2 separate regions of the Homo sapiens genome follow, and region 1 is linked to region 2. Evidence: promoter capture Hi-C in 16 types of primary human blood cells and fetal thymus (Javierre and others, 2016). All regions are on one chromosome and are shown on one strand. The core of a region is centred on a gene start or on the middle of the fragment in contact, and the rest is flanking DNA. Distances in the headings are between cores, read along the strand shown.

Region 1 (6,580 bases), core at 858-3,357, 110 kb after region 2:
GAGGCCTGAGAAATCAGAGCCCCGCATCTCTCTGCCATTCCATCCCCACTTACCATTTTATAGAGGAGAAGCTGAAGCTGGGTATGAGGAGGGACTTGCCCAAGATCACAAGCCAGGGCCTTCCCCTCCATTGGGCACCATTTCACCGGCCTCATGGGCTGCTTCTCCCTGCTCTGACCCAGAACTTGATCATCACAAACCAGGAGTATGCCAGGTCTTTGGAAGCAGTAAAACCTATAGAGATTGGAAGGCCCCGACCCAACCCTACCCAAAGTAGGGGTGTCAGCAACTAGAAAGAAGAAGGGCTCAGGATTACAGCACCTCCTCCCTTCAGCTGTCTGTCACCCAGGTGTCCCCATAACGACTCCCTCCACAGATACCCAGATGGCCAACAAGGGCAGCTCCCTTGAAACAAATGTCCCCCGAACTCCTCAGCCCCAGGAGGGAGGGGCCGTTGGGATGGGCAGCCCAGAGAGCCTGGGCTTTGCACCCAGAGCTAAGCGAGCTCAAATCCCAACTGGGCCACCTGGGACAGGTTATGCAGCCTCCCTATCACCCTCTGTAGAAGGAGAATCACAAAAAATTCTACCCACCTTATAGGGTTGCTGTAAGGATTTTGCAAGATATTGGATAGAAAGTTTCACACAACACTGGGCACAGAGAACACAGAGTGAACAGATGGTGTTGCTGTTCTCATCTATGACGACCTTTTACCCTTAGAACTCTGGGCACCAAGTTAGGGGTGGGGTGCCGGGTGGGGAGGAGTGCCAGGGAGCCAAGGGGAGGCCCTTAAGTGACGCTCAGAGAGGTCCTGACCTTCCCCAAAGCAGGAGTCCTTGGCCCAAGGGAGAATGAGTTTCGGACAGCCATGTGGCCCCCAGTAAGGGGCCCCCTAACATTCCATTTGGGCTTTAACAGGGGGTGGCCTGGAATGTCCAAGAAAAACAATCTGGTTATTCTGAGTGAAATTACAGCCTGGCTAAGGCAGGCTGGGTCTGCTTTAAATTAAACATAGCATTTCTGAGATTCTTTTCATCTCCTTGCCACTGCGGGTTAGCGGAGACATTACCTCACCTCACCTTCCACTCTGAGGTGGGAGGCCGACAGGGTGTGGGCCTGGGGGTGGGGACGAGAGAGGGAGGCCGGAGAGCCCACCAAGGGGGGCCAGGGGTCCCTCCTCACTCCAAGAGCTCAGGCTCTCACTGGGGCTGGGAGCAGTGGCTGTGTGGGGAAGAGGCGCACCCATGCACAGCCCACTCCATCCTTGGCATTTAGCAAAGGAATGACAGCACTTTCAAATACACTGCTTTCCTAGGAGCCCTTGGGGAAACTGGGTTGCGGTTTCACAGGTCCAAGGTCAGTCCCTTTCTTGCTCCCTGTCCCACACTTAGGTGCTGGGTGGCCGCGCCTGCGAGCTCCTCAGAACTCCAGGGTGTTTTCGCTCAAAAACAGATGGAGACACCAGTTTCCTCACTGAGTGGTTTTGGTTGGGGGTGGAGTTCCCTCCTGGCTTTGGAAGTTGCTTTTGGCCAGCTTTGCCTGCCTGTGGAGTCCTAGAAAATTCCACAGTGCTGCAGTCGGGTAGACCCGAGTGTGAGTCCCGCCTCCCAGGATAAGGTTCACCTTATCTTACTCAGATCCTGAATCCCCTCTTCTTTAACATGGGGAAGGAGACAGGGTTATGGGTTAGATGAAATTAAGCATGTTTGAGGTTCTTGTTTTAGATGAAGTACACCCAAAATTCTTTGGTTATAAGTTTCTATGAAACTTGAGGAAGTTTCTATTTCTTATAACCAAAGAATGTTGGGTATACTTGAAACTTGAAACTTTGGGTATACTAGAAACTTGAGGAAGTTTCTATTTCTGCCTTGTGTAAAACGGAAATTTTTTTTTTTTTCTGAAATCAGGGTACTCTCATGGAAACAGGCTGCAAAACCTCTCAGAGAATTGGAATCAGGAATTAGGAAAGGGATTTGCAGTTTCTCTCCCTCTGTCTCTGCCTGTTCTCGGGTATTTGCTTCCCTCAGGGCCTCAGTGGTAGGCTCCTGTCTGTACAAACCATTTACTCAGAGCCCCAGCCTTGGCCTGACATCATTTCCTCACGCTGGGTCCATGGTTAGAGCTCAGTGAAAGACAGCAGGTTTCTGTTGTGCTGCTTGGTTTTGCACATCAATATTAGCATGCTGAAGATTTCGTTTGTCCCTCCAGACCCACTCGCTCTCCTTTCTTCTCCACCTTGCCCTGATCCTGGGACTGGCCTGTAGGAACCACGTCAACTGAGCTCCCGCACCTTCTGGGTTCTGGTTGAGTTCAGCCCATCGTGGCCAGCAGCAGGGAATAGGAGGGCAGGAGGAAAGAGCCATCCTGGCACTTACTGTTCTCCCTCTTTGCCATGGGGGGTGGCTTGGTGGTGAAGTGTCTGGTTCCTCTACTGAAGGCCATGGCACACTTTCCAGCAAGCCCCTCCTTTGGCTATAGCTCTGTCTGCGTTCTTTTGTTGTTATTGGTTTTTTTGCTTGTTTGTTTTTTGTTTTTTGTTTTTTTTTTTTGAGACGAAGTCTCACTCTGTTGCCCAGGCTGGAATGCAATGGCACTATCTCAGTTCAGTGCAACCTCCGCCTCCCAGGTTCAAGTGATTATCCTGCCTCTGCCTCCCGAGTAGCTGGGATTACAGGCGTGTGCCACCACATCCAGCTAATTTTTGTATTTTTAGTAGAGATGGGATTTCGCCATGTTGACCAGGCTGGTCTTAAACTCCTGACTTCAACCCACCCACCTCGGCCTCCCAAAGTGCTATCTCTCTGCATTCTTGATGCCACGTTCCCGCCTTGGTCCTTCACGCTTAGGGTGGTGATGGCTCCCCACTGTTACTATCCCAGAGGTGCTGCACCATCCTTGTTCATTTTTTTCCATCTTGCCCATGTCTGCTCACTGTATTCTCTCCAGTGACTGAGCTGTAACTTTGAATTGCCATCTCTCTCCTGCTGGGACTCTGACTGATGCAATAAGATCAAGGGGAAGTCAGCTTTGTCTCTTTGCCCCACCTCCCACTCCGGCTCCCATAGGAAGTGGATGAAGAGCTCTAGGTTTGAGATAAACATTAGCAATAAGATAGAACTGAGCAGATACCCGTTATTCTGCTAGAGTGAAAAAGAATGCACGTGCACTGGGTGGAGTTACTTCTTTTGTAAAAAACTTCATTTTCCCGGGAGAATGTGACCACTGGGAAGAGGCAGAAATACGCTATCAATTTGGTCAGGGCTCTCTCTTTTTCTGGGCACACAGATGCCTAAAATTTCAGCATCATACAGGGTGTGGACAGAAAATATTTTTAAATTGTCAACTTCTAGGTATTTTTCACTCTCAAATTCATAGGATTAGTCACCGGAATCCCTGTCTTTTCCTTTCCTTTGGCAGTTTGGCTCATGGATATCTTGCTTTTGGCTTTGACTACTACAATAGCCTGTGACCCTGTCTCTGGTCTCTTTTTCCCTGTCTGTTCCACAGCCCTCTGTCAAGTTTGTCTTGGTTTGACCCAGGTCTATACATGTCAAGACCCAGATCAAAGCATTTTATGGCTTCCTGCTGAAGTGTCTGAACACTTCAGCCTGACATTCAAGGCTTCTGCAGCAGTCCTCAACTTTCTGGTCTACCTCCTATTTCAGGAACTTCCCACACCTGACAAATCAGATCTTCCTCACTGACCTTCCAACCCCTGCTCCCACTCTCTCCATCTGTTCTTCAACATGCCGTCCAAATCCCACATCCCAGCTAAGGCCTTCCCTGCCCACTCAGATGGAGGTGACTCCTCACGGTTAACCCCTGCCATTCTGAAGTGGGAGTGCTCAGAGATTAAGGAGGAAGAGCTGATGGAAAGAGAACCATATTCATACACCAGTTGCAGCCTCTGCACTGTCCTGTTTGGATATCATTCAGGGACACACAGAGGACCCTCTGTGCACCTCACTGCACAGATGCATAGCCAACTTCATCCCAAAGGAGCTAAGGGGAGACCCTGTGGCTCCAGGCAGTGTCACCTTCTCTTCAGGCCTCTCCATTACCTGGTTTTGTCCTCTGGCTTCATCATGTGATGGTGCCGGTCACTCTCTCTTGACAGAAAAATCTGGGGCCCCAGGTTGTGTCATCTGAGTGCTTGGATCAAAGGGTAAGACAGGGGACCTTAAGCAAGTATCAGGAAGAACTTCACCCAGGAGGTGCCTTCACAGCACAATCTGCCTATCTTCAGATGGGGAGTCCTGACCTGGCCTTGTGAATGCTGTGGGACCCCAGGCCTCCTTTTGCCCATATAGAAAGTCCAAGTCTTTGCTGCTTTTGAGGTTAAGCATCAGTTGGTTTCAACTATCTTTGGCTACACACACACACACACACACACACATACACACACAGAGCTTTGAGGATTCATAATACTTTTGCTCATTCAATCTTGAGTTGCAATTGCTTTGACCATAGCAACAGAGTCCTCCATAACAAAGGCCTTTACAACATTTTAACAGTGAATATAATGCAATTAATTTTTTGCAGCAATTAATTACACATGCGTTAAGAAACCATAAACTTGTAGATTTCTGTCTCTCCCTGGGAAAATTCTAGAATGGTTCATTAAACATTAGGTTGTGACTACATAGAATATAAATTAGAAATAAGAAGAATTTAAATTGGAATATTTTTAAGTTAAAAGAAAAAATACAAATCATTGGAAGCCAATATATTTTCTAAGAATATATCATGTCAAATTAATCTCATTTTCTTTTCTCGCAGAGTCAACAAGCTGATCTGTTAGAGATTTACTATAGATATAGATTTGAAGAATTTTAGGTGAAATGCATTGGTTTCCACAAAGCACATAGGAATCCTCTCATAAAAGCTGTGATAGTCATTACAGTGGTGCATAGATAATCAGTTTTTCCTCCTCTCATCCCCATAGTAAGGTTGTATTTTCTTGCCTTCTTTGAAGTTAGATGCTATCATGTAATCTGCTTTGGCCAATGAAATGTGAGTGGAAGGACACCCCATGATGAATGAATCAAGGTACCAGGTAATTCTTGGATGAACACTCACAGACAATAAATGAAGCCACGCCTGGGCAGCATTATCAGTCCCTCCAAAGGGCAGGCTAAAGAGAGAAGAACCTTTCAAAGTAAATAATGGCAATGACTTTGGAAACAAAGAGGTGTTAATCAGAAGAAAGTGCTTGAAGTGACACAAGTCAGCCTTCTGGGTGAGACGTGGGGCCCAAGCATAGACACATCAGAATCAGGGTGGTCAGAGCCAGGAGGCATGACACCACGGTCTGTCTGGTGGCTGGCTCTGTGACCTTGGCCAGTTCATACCTTTGAGCCTCTGCCTCCTTCCCATATGTGACTGGGGGCTCGATGAGGGGTAAGTACATTTAGAGAGAAAAGCTGCCAATAACTTTTCCATCTCTGTGGATATTGAGAGTCACCTTGGATTAGATCTTGGTTGTCTTCTCCCCCTGAACCTTACTGGCCACTCTGAATTGTGCAAAAACAAAAAAAGGGGCCCCTATTGCCACAGGGCCAATGTATAGTAGGAGCCTTGGCAGCCAAGCAAGATCTGTTTCACCCAGCACCCTCTGTATGCAGAGATGGCTGCCTGGGGGACAAGGAAGTTCCTGGGGAGGCAGAATTAAGACCCCCAACTGCTTCCCCTCTGAATATCACTGTCATTAGGACCTCCCTTGTGGATTGGAAGAGACCCTACTCAGGACATCATTATCGTGAAAGAAAAGGAGGGCAACAAGGCCTAGAGGATTGTGGGGAAAGGCTGCTCCTGGCCAAGTACAAGAACAAGTATAATAATGCCCTGGACACTCAGACACACACAACTTCTGCTGAGGCTGAGCATAGAAGGGTGAACTTGGAGTTCCTGCTCAGGAGGCTCCTGGGGAATCAGGCCAATGAGGTCATCACTGTAGAAGGGACAAAGCTGCAACATATGGGGCAGGACTAGTTTTTAACCAAGACACAGCATGGTGGCAACAGAAGCAACAAGAACAATCCCAAATCCCAGCCTCTTCTCTAGGCCTGGTGGCTGGGGCAGACTGGGCTCTTTGGATGGTCAGCCTCTAGGGGTCCTTGGGCAATGGTGTTGGCAATGGGGTGGGGAAAAGTGAGAGGAAAGCCTCAAAAAAAAGATGCCAGGCCTGGTGCTGTGTCTCACGCCTGTAATTCCAGCACTTTGGGAGGCCAAGGTGGGCAGATCACTTGAGGTCAGGAATCTGAGACCAGCCTGCCAATATGGTGAAACCCCGTCTCTACTAAAAATAGAAAAATTAGCCAGGCATGGTGGTGCACACCAAAATCCCAGCTACTAGGGAGGCTGAGGCAGGCCAATTGCTTGAACCTGGGAGGCGGAGGTTGCAATGAGCCAAGATCGTGCCACTGCCCTCCAGCCTGGGCACAGAGCGAGACTCCATCTCAAAAAAGAGATGCCAGACCTCCCTGCTAATATACGCAAATGGGTGCTCAGGCAACTAATAGGGAAAAAGCAACAGATACTTTGATTTAAGCTTGCAAAATGAGTCAAAGCTATTACGTGA
Region 2 (6,510 bases), core at 1,953-4,452:
GCACTCCAGCCTGGGCGACGGCGAGACTCTGTCTCAAAAAAAAAAAAAAGAAAAAAAAAACTGGAGTAAAATAGCTGTGCCTGTGGCTCCTAAAACAGCAATACCATGCCTAGGTATGGACCTATCAGAAATGCAGACACATATGTACCAAAGCCAGACACTAGAGTGGTCACAGCGGCACTTTCTGTAACAGACAAATGCTGCAAACTGCCCAAATGTCCACTAACAATGCGTGACTATGTGGTATATTCACCCAATGGCCCCTATCACCAATGAGAGTGAACATGCTTCAACCATGGGCAGCATCATGAGTGATTCTCAGAAACTCAATGCTTAAGGAAAGAAGGCATACACTAGCCAGCCAGGCGCAATTGCTCACGCCTGTAATCTCAGCGCTTTGGGAGGGCAATGTGGGAGAATAGTTTGAGGCTAGGAGTTGCCAGAGACCAGCCTGGACAACACAGTGGGAGCCGTCTCTACAAAATAAAATAAAACAAATTAGCTGGGTCTGGTGGTGTGTGCCCGTAGTCTCAGCTACTGAGGAGGCTAAGGCAGGAGGATTGCTTGACTCCAGGAGTTCAAGGCTGATCCTGGGGGAGGCCGCGACTGGAGTACAACACAAGGGGAGCTCCCAGGGTCCCGGCCAGTTCTGTTTGTTGATCTAAGTGCTGAGTGCATGGGCATGTTCAGTCTGGAAAATTCATTGAGCAGGACACTTATGGTATGTCTACTTTCCTAGTATCTATGCTATACTTAAAAAAAAAAGAGGAAAAAAAAGTTTTGTCTGTCTGGTGTCCAGGTAAGACAAGCCTGGTAGTGTCCTTGAAGCCTCAAAGCTGATTTTTCTCCTGCTCCCTTACGCATTTCACTTGCTTCTCCTCTGCACGTGTGCTTAAGCTGGCTGTCTCCCGGGCGAGCCTGCGTGTCACCGTCATATTTATGGTTTCCTCCCACACCAGGCCTGTGATTCACCCCACTTTGGATGCCTTTGCTAACTTATGCCACCCACACTGATCCAGCCCTTGCTTTTCCTTCCTCAGCAGTTAGGCAGCTTGGAGCATCATTAACATGTGTATATTCCCAGTTGTTTTACTTCTGCCAGAGCTTCCCAGCAGACTAAAACCACGGAGCATGCCCTTCGGGAGTGATCTCAGTCCTCCATCGTGTCCACAGGCAGTGCGGATTAAATCGCTCCTCAGGAGCCAGGAGGGTGTGGAAGGTGAGCTTTATCCCTTCTCCCAGAAACTGCTGGCTCCAAGACACCCACCTCAGCCCTCCAGGACCTGGAATGGACTCCCACAGAGGACTCACCAACCTCTTTTCATTCATTGCCTCCCGAGGCCAACCTGCTAGATAAATTCCCCTCATTGCTGCAAATAGTCCCACAAGGCAAGCAGGGAAGAACTAGAGGAGCAAACCAAAGAACAAAGAGTGTGTTCTTATTCTGCCACGGATATATCCTTAACGTTCATCACCAATCTATTTTGATAACATGCAACAATTTACAATTTATGCCAAAATTATAAGAACTGTCCAAATAGTCGTAAATGTGAGCTCTCAAAATTTCTGCCTGTCAGCCCTCTCTCTTCCATGAGCCCCTTCATGCCTTCCTATCTCACCTGTTTCTTTTCTCGCCTAGACGAAGAAATGCTGATCATAACCCAGAATATCCAAGGGTCATTTCATCTTACAAAAACAGCAGCATCCATATAACAGGCACATGGGTAAAAGACTCAAGACATGCTGGTTATATGCTCTCGCAGTTCGTATGAATCTCTCCTTCTCCAAGTGACAGCTGGAATTCAGGTGCTTCTAGGCTCTGTTACTAGCAATGTTAGACACTCCTCGAAGCTGTCAAGCTCTCAGGATTACACAAGTGAAACCACAACCTGTCCTGACTGTATTCAAGTCTGTGCCCCTTCATGCAGCAGAAATGGATTCCTCTTCCACAGTTTCAGCAGCTGTATCCTTCCGTGGAAAAGGATTAGCAGCCATAAGCCCGGGGGAGGGCAGCTAAACACCAGAGGGCAGGAGATGAGTCTCCTTCCTCTCTGTGACACCCAGCACGGCCCTGCCACGAGGAGCAGGCAACCACTGGTGCCAGATGAAGCGCAGCACATAAAACCATTTTCCCCTTCAAATGAACGATGCCTAATTAAGCAAAAGCCGCATGCATGACTTAAGACATGAGGATATAAAATTCGTCTTCCGAGTCAGCTAGAGATTCTGCAGGATCCTCTACCCTCGTAAACGTATTTTTTTATGATTAGAAAAACCCGGGGCCTGGAAGGGACCTCGGCCATCGGCAGGGTAAGCTTCTCAGGAGAGACCATGAGCCCGAGCCCCACAGGGGGATCAGTGTCTGCCAAGGTCACCAAGCGGGTGTGAGGCAAGGGCAGGGCTCCTCGGGGATGCTCTCGGAAAACCCTGCGTTACTTACACACGCAAGGCGTACAATGAATGCACACCCGCGTCAAGCCACGGCTTACAATTCAGAAGAAATCAAAAGGTCGCCAAAACCTGTCTTCTCCGCAAGGCTGGCTGCAGAGAGGGTGCAGGGAAGGTCACCGGCAAATTTCTACCAGCGGCCCCACATCACGCCTCCCCGATGGATGCAGAGAGAGGTTTCAGGAGCTGCTAGTAACCTTGCAGGGGGTTCCCTAAGCCCATCCCAGGAAAACGAGTTAACTCGGCTCTGCTAACTCCGAAGCTTCCAGCAATGAATTAAATCCCGAGCTGCAGCGGAAAGCGGCGGGGAAAGGGCCACTGCGGCGGGACCCGACACCCGGCGGTCCGCCCCACCCTCTACCGCGTACACACCTGCGTGGGACCCCCCGCCCGGTCCACACGGCCCGGGACCACGACCCTCCGCCCGCGCCCCAGCCGGGCTCGCCTGAGGGTGTCGTGCCCTGGGCGCTGCCCGCGGGGTTCGAGGCGGAAACGCCGCGCCCAGCCGGCCCGGGAAGAGACAAGTCGCCGCCGCAGCCCCCAGCCCGCGGGCCCCCGCGACGCCGAGGAGGGGGCTGCGCCACGTACCTCGGCCGGCAGGTGCCGCCGCTGCCTCGGTCCGCGGCTGCAGGGGACGCCGCTCCGCGCAGCCCGCCGCCTTCGTCCGCATACTAATGAGGGGGCGCCGGCCGGCCGCCAGCCCGGTACCCCGCGCCCCCACCCGCCCCCAGCGCCGCTCTCGCGCCCATTCAGCTGGGGGCCGCCGCTCCCCCGCTCAGATGCGGAGGAGGGGCGCGTGGGCGGGGTCTGACGTCACGAGGACGCGGACGGCCAATCGGAGAGCACGATGCCTCCGCGGCGGCCCCCGCCCCCGGGCGCGCGGCCAGTCAGCCCTGCGGTGCGGTGGGCATTGCCAGAGCAGGGCGCCCCCTGCAGGGACGCACCCGGGGCGGGGGCCAGGCTGGGGCGAGCCCCCCTTGGTTCTGGAGAGGAAATGACATACAGTTTGTGAAAGCATAAATATTCGTGAAAATAAGAAAATTCAGGAAGGAAACAAAGCTTAAGGCAGTGATTGATAGGTTATTTCTTGGACACAGCTGAACGTATACTGTGCGCCTGCAACTTTCCGGTGGTTTCGGACCGGACTTCAGTGAAGCCAGTGAAGTCGGTCGACTTGCAGAACTTCCTTTCAGAGGGGCGTACACAGCACCGCGGCCGTGTGCCTGTGATCTCCTTCTGAGTTTGAAAAAGAAGATCCTAGACACCGAGCCAAATATGTTTGCATAAACCGGGAGACTTGTGGCTCTATTTTGTAACAGCTTGGCGCAGGGCAGCTGGTTTGGAGATGTCTCTGTTCTTCCCTTGGTGGGGGTGCCGGAAAAAATGTGCTGCCTGGGCGATCGAGGTTGGGGCAAAAGCGTTGCAAAGGAAAAGGTGGGAGGACTCTACTTTCACATTTCCCAAAAGAGTTTTACCATAAGACTATTTCTGGATTGTTCTAACGTGAGGATATTGGGAGCATTTTGAAAATACTGGAGGAAAAGCTGTCACTGGGCGATTTAAATCCGGTAAGTTGGCCAAGGCAGAGCAGCTGCTGGGGTCAGCGACAGCTGACCCTTGCAGCTGAGTATCTTGCCCTCTTAATCTTGGAGATCAGCCCAAGGCCCATGTGTTACAGGAAAGGGGTCCCGATCTAGACCCCAAGAGAGGGTTCTTCGATCTCACGCAAGAAACAATTCAGAGTAAGTCCACAGTGCAAAGTAAAAGCAAGTTTATTAAGAAAGTAAAGTGGTGGCTGGGCACAGTGGCTCACGCGTAATCCCAGCACTTTGGGAGGCTGAGACGGACAGATCACCTGATGTCAGGAGTTCAAGACCAGCTGGCCAACATGGCAAAACCCCGTCTCTACTAGAAATACAAATATTGGCCGGGCGTGGTGGCGCAAGCCTGTTGTCTCAGCTACTCACGGGGCTGAGGCAGGAGAATCGCTTGAACCCGGGAGGCAGAGGCTACAGTGAGCCGAGATCGCCACTGCACTCCAGCAGGGCATTCCTGAAAATAAGAGGAGGGACATATCCAACTAAGGTACAATGCTTGTAATGCTTGTATATATGGGCAGATGTCTTCTGCTACAAGGGTTTGTGATAAAGGATTAATTTTCCCTAATTACTATATTTTGCAATAATCAATATTATTATTTTTAAAGCAAAATTAGGAATGCCTTTGTTCTCCAGATATCGGGATATCTGGACTCTCTCAAGTCTGGGTCTGTTTAGTAAGCATTATTAATTTGTTCTCTTAACCATAAACACCTAGAGGCTAGGAATGCCTAGCTTTCAGGAAATGCAGCCTAGCAAGTCCCAGCCTCATTTTTCTAGCCCTCACTCAAAATGGAGGCGCTCTGGTTTGAACACTTCTGACACATGTGCTTGATGCAACACTCTTTACCTCTCTTTGTCTCCCCTGTCCTTCCCCTTCTCTTCCAGATTCCCCTTGTCGGCAAAGCCAGGCGCTGATAGCGTTATGGCTGCCATGAGAGTCAGCAGTATCCCAGCTTCCAAGGATGGGTGTAAGGTGGGGGTGAGGAAGAAAAGGAACTTGAAGCTGCCTCCTGTCCCAGAATCACAAGACATCTGTTAAGCCCTTACTACCTCATTCACTCCACTCACATTAGGTTGACCCACTTGGGCAGCAAGACAAGCAGGCCTGCAAACTTCCTTTTCTTCATCAGCCACAGAGACATCCTCAGCTATTATTCTGGATTAAGGCAGAGATCTCCAAACAGCAGACTAAGATCAGCCTCTAGATCTCAAAGCCTTACTGTTATCTCTCCAAGTCAGTGGCTGATCTCAGAGAAGCTTCTGAATAGTGACTAGCAAAGAGTCACTCAGGCTACTTACAAATCCAGGACAGCAGCGTTTTTTTTTTTTTCTTTTTTAGAGACAGATTCACTCTGTCATCCAAGCTGGAGTGCAGTGGCACGATCTTGGCTCACTGCAACCTCCACCTCCTGGGCTCAAGCAATCCTCCTACCTCAGCCTCCCAAGTAGCTGGAACTACAGGTACCCAACACCATGCCAGGCTAATTTCTAATTTTTTGTAGAGACAGCAGTCTCCCTCTGTTGCCCAGGCTGGCCTCAAACTCCTAGGCTCAAGTGTTCCTCCTGCCTGGGCCTCCCAAAGTGCTGGGATCACAGATGTGAGCCACTGCATGCAGCCAAAACCAGTTATTTTTTGGCTGGGCATGGTGGCTCGCACCTGTGATCCCAGCACTTTGGGAAGCCGAGGTGGGCAGATTACTTGAGGTCAGGAGTTTGAGACCAGCCTGGACAACATGGTGAAACCCTGTCTCTGCTAAAAGTACAAAAAATTAGCTGGGCATGGTGGCATGTGCCTGTAATCCCAGCTACTCAGGAGGCTGAGGCAGGAAAATTGCTTGAACCCAGGAGGCAGAGGTTGCAGTGAGCCGAGATCACGCTAGTGCACTCTAGCCTGGGTGACAGAGCGAAACTCTGTCTAAAAAAAAGAAGTTATTTTTTATCAATATATATTAACATGCAATGGATTTATTATTATTATTATTTTATTTATTTATTTTTTACTTGAGACAGAGTCTTGCTCTGCCACCCAGGCTGGAGTGCAATGGTACAATCATGGCTCACTGCAACCTCCACCTCCCAGGTTCAGGTGATTCTCCTGCCTTAGCCTCCAGAAGTAGCTGGGATTACAGGCACGTACCACCATGCCCAGCTAATATTTGTATTTTTAGTACAGATGGGGTTTCACCATGTTGGCCAGGCTGGTCAAGAACTCCGGACCTCAGGTGATCCACCCTCCTCAGCCTCCCAAAGTGCTGGGATTATAGGTGTGAACCACAATGCCCAGCCAGATTTATTATTTTAATGACTTAATAAATATTTTAAAATTTAAATATTTAAATTAAATTAAATATTTAAAAATTTCTCAGTTTTAATTTTTAATTTGGCAAATATCAAGAGAAAGACCATGTCAAAAAGATTCTTTGGGATCCTCAGTAATTTCTAGGTGTGTAAATTGATCCTG

Evidence for each region. The method cuts DNA at HindIII sites, captures the fragments that hold promoters and counts their contacts. A CHiCAGO score of 5 or more calls a contact.
Region 1: a fragment that was not itself captured here is called in contact with the fragment with the promoter of ST3GAL5 in region 2 in 3 of 17 cell types (M0 macrophages, megakaryocytes and total B cells); the score reaches 8.8 in M0 macrophages.

The regions. Positions count from the first base shown.
Region 1 is chr2:85,997,378-86,003,957 of GRCh38, forward strand. It overlaps LOC105374843 (a long non-coding RNA gene), which reads right to left and starts at 701. Exons shown (of 3, transcript XR_940318.3): 1 at 594-701; 2 at 54-264. The HindIII fragment of the contact is 8,882 bases long and covers 1-6,548 here.
Region 2 is chr2:85,885,788-85,892,297 of GRCh38, forward strand. It overlaps ST3GAL5 (ST3 beta-galactoside alpha-2,3-sialyltransferase 5), which reads right to left and starts at 3,203. Exons shown (of 7, transcript NM_003896.4): 1 at 3,037-3,203. The coding sequence starts at 3,118. ST3GAL5-AS1 (ST3GAL5 antisense RNA 1) reads left to right here and starts at 3,493. Exons shown (of 3, transcript NR_110569.1): 1 at 3,493-4,016; 2 at 5,389-5,418; 3 at 5,904-6,465. RefSeq lists enhancers at 1,785-1,904, 1,915-2,044, 2,383-2,883, 2,575-2,654 and silencers at 2,825-2,944, 2,985-3,604. The HindIII fragment of the contact is 797 bases long and covers 2,709-3,505 here.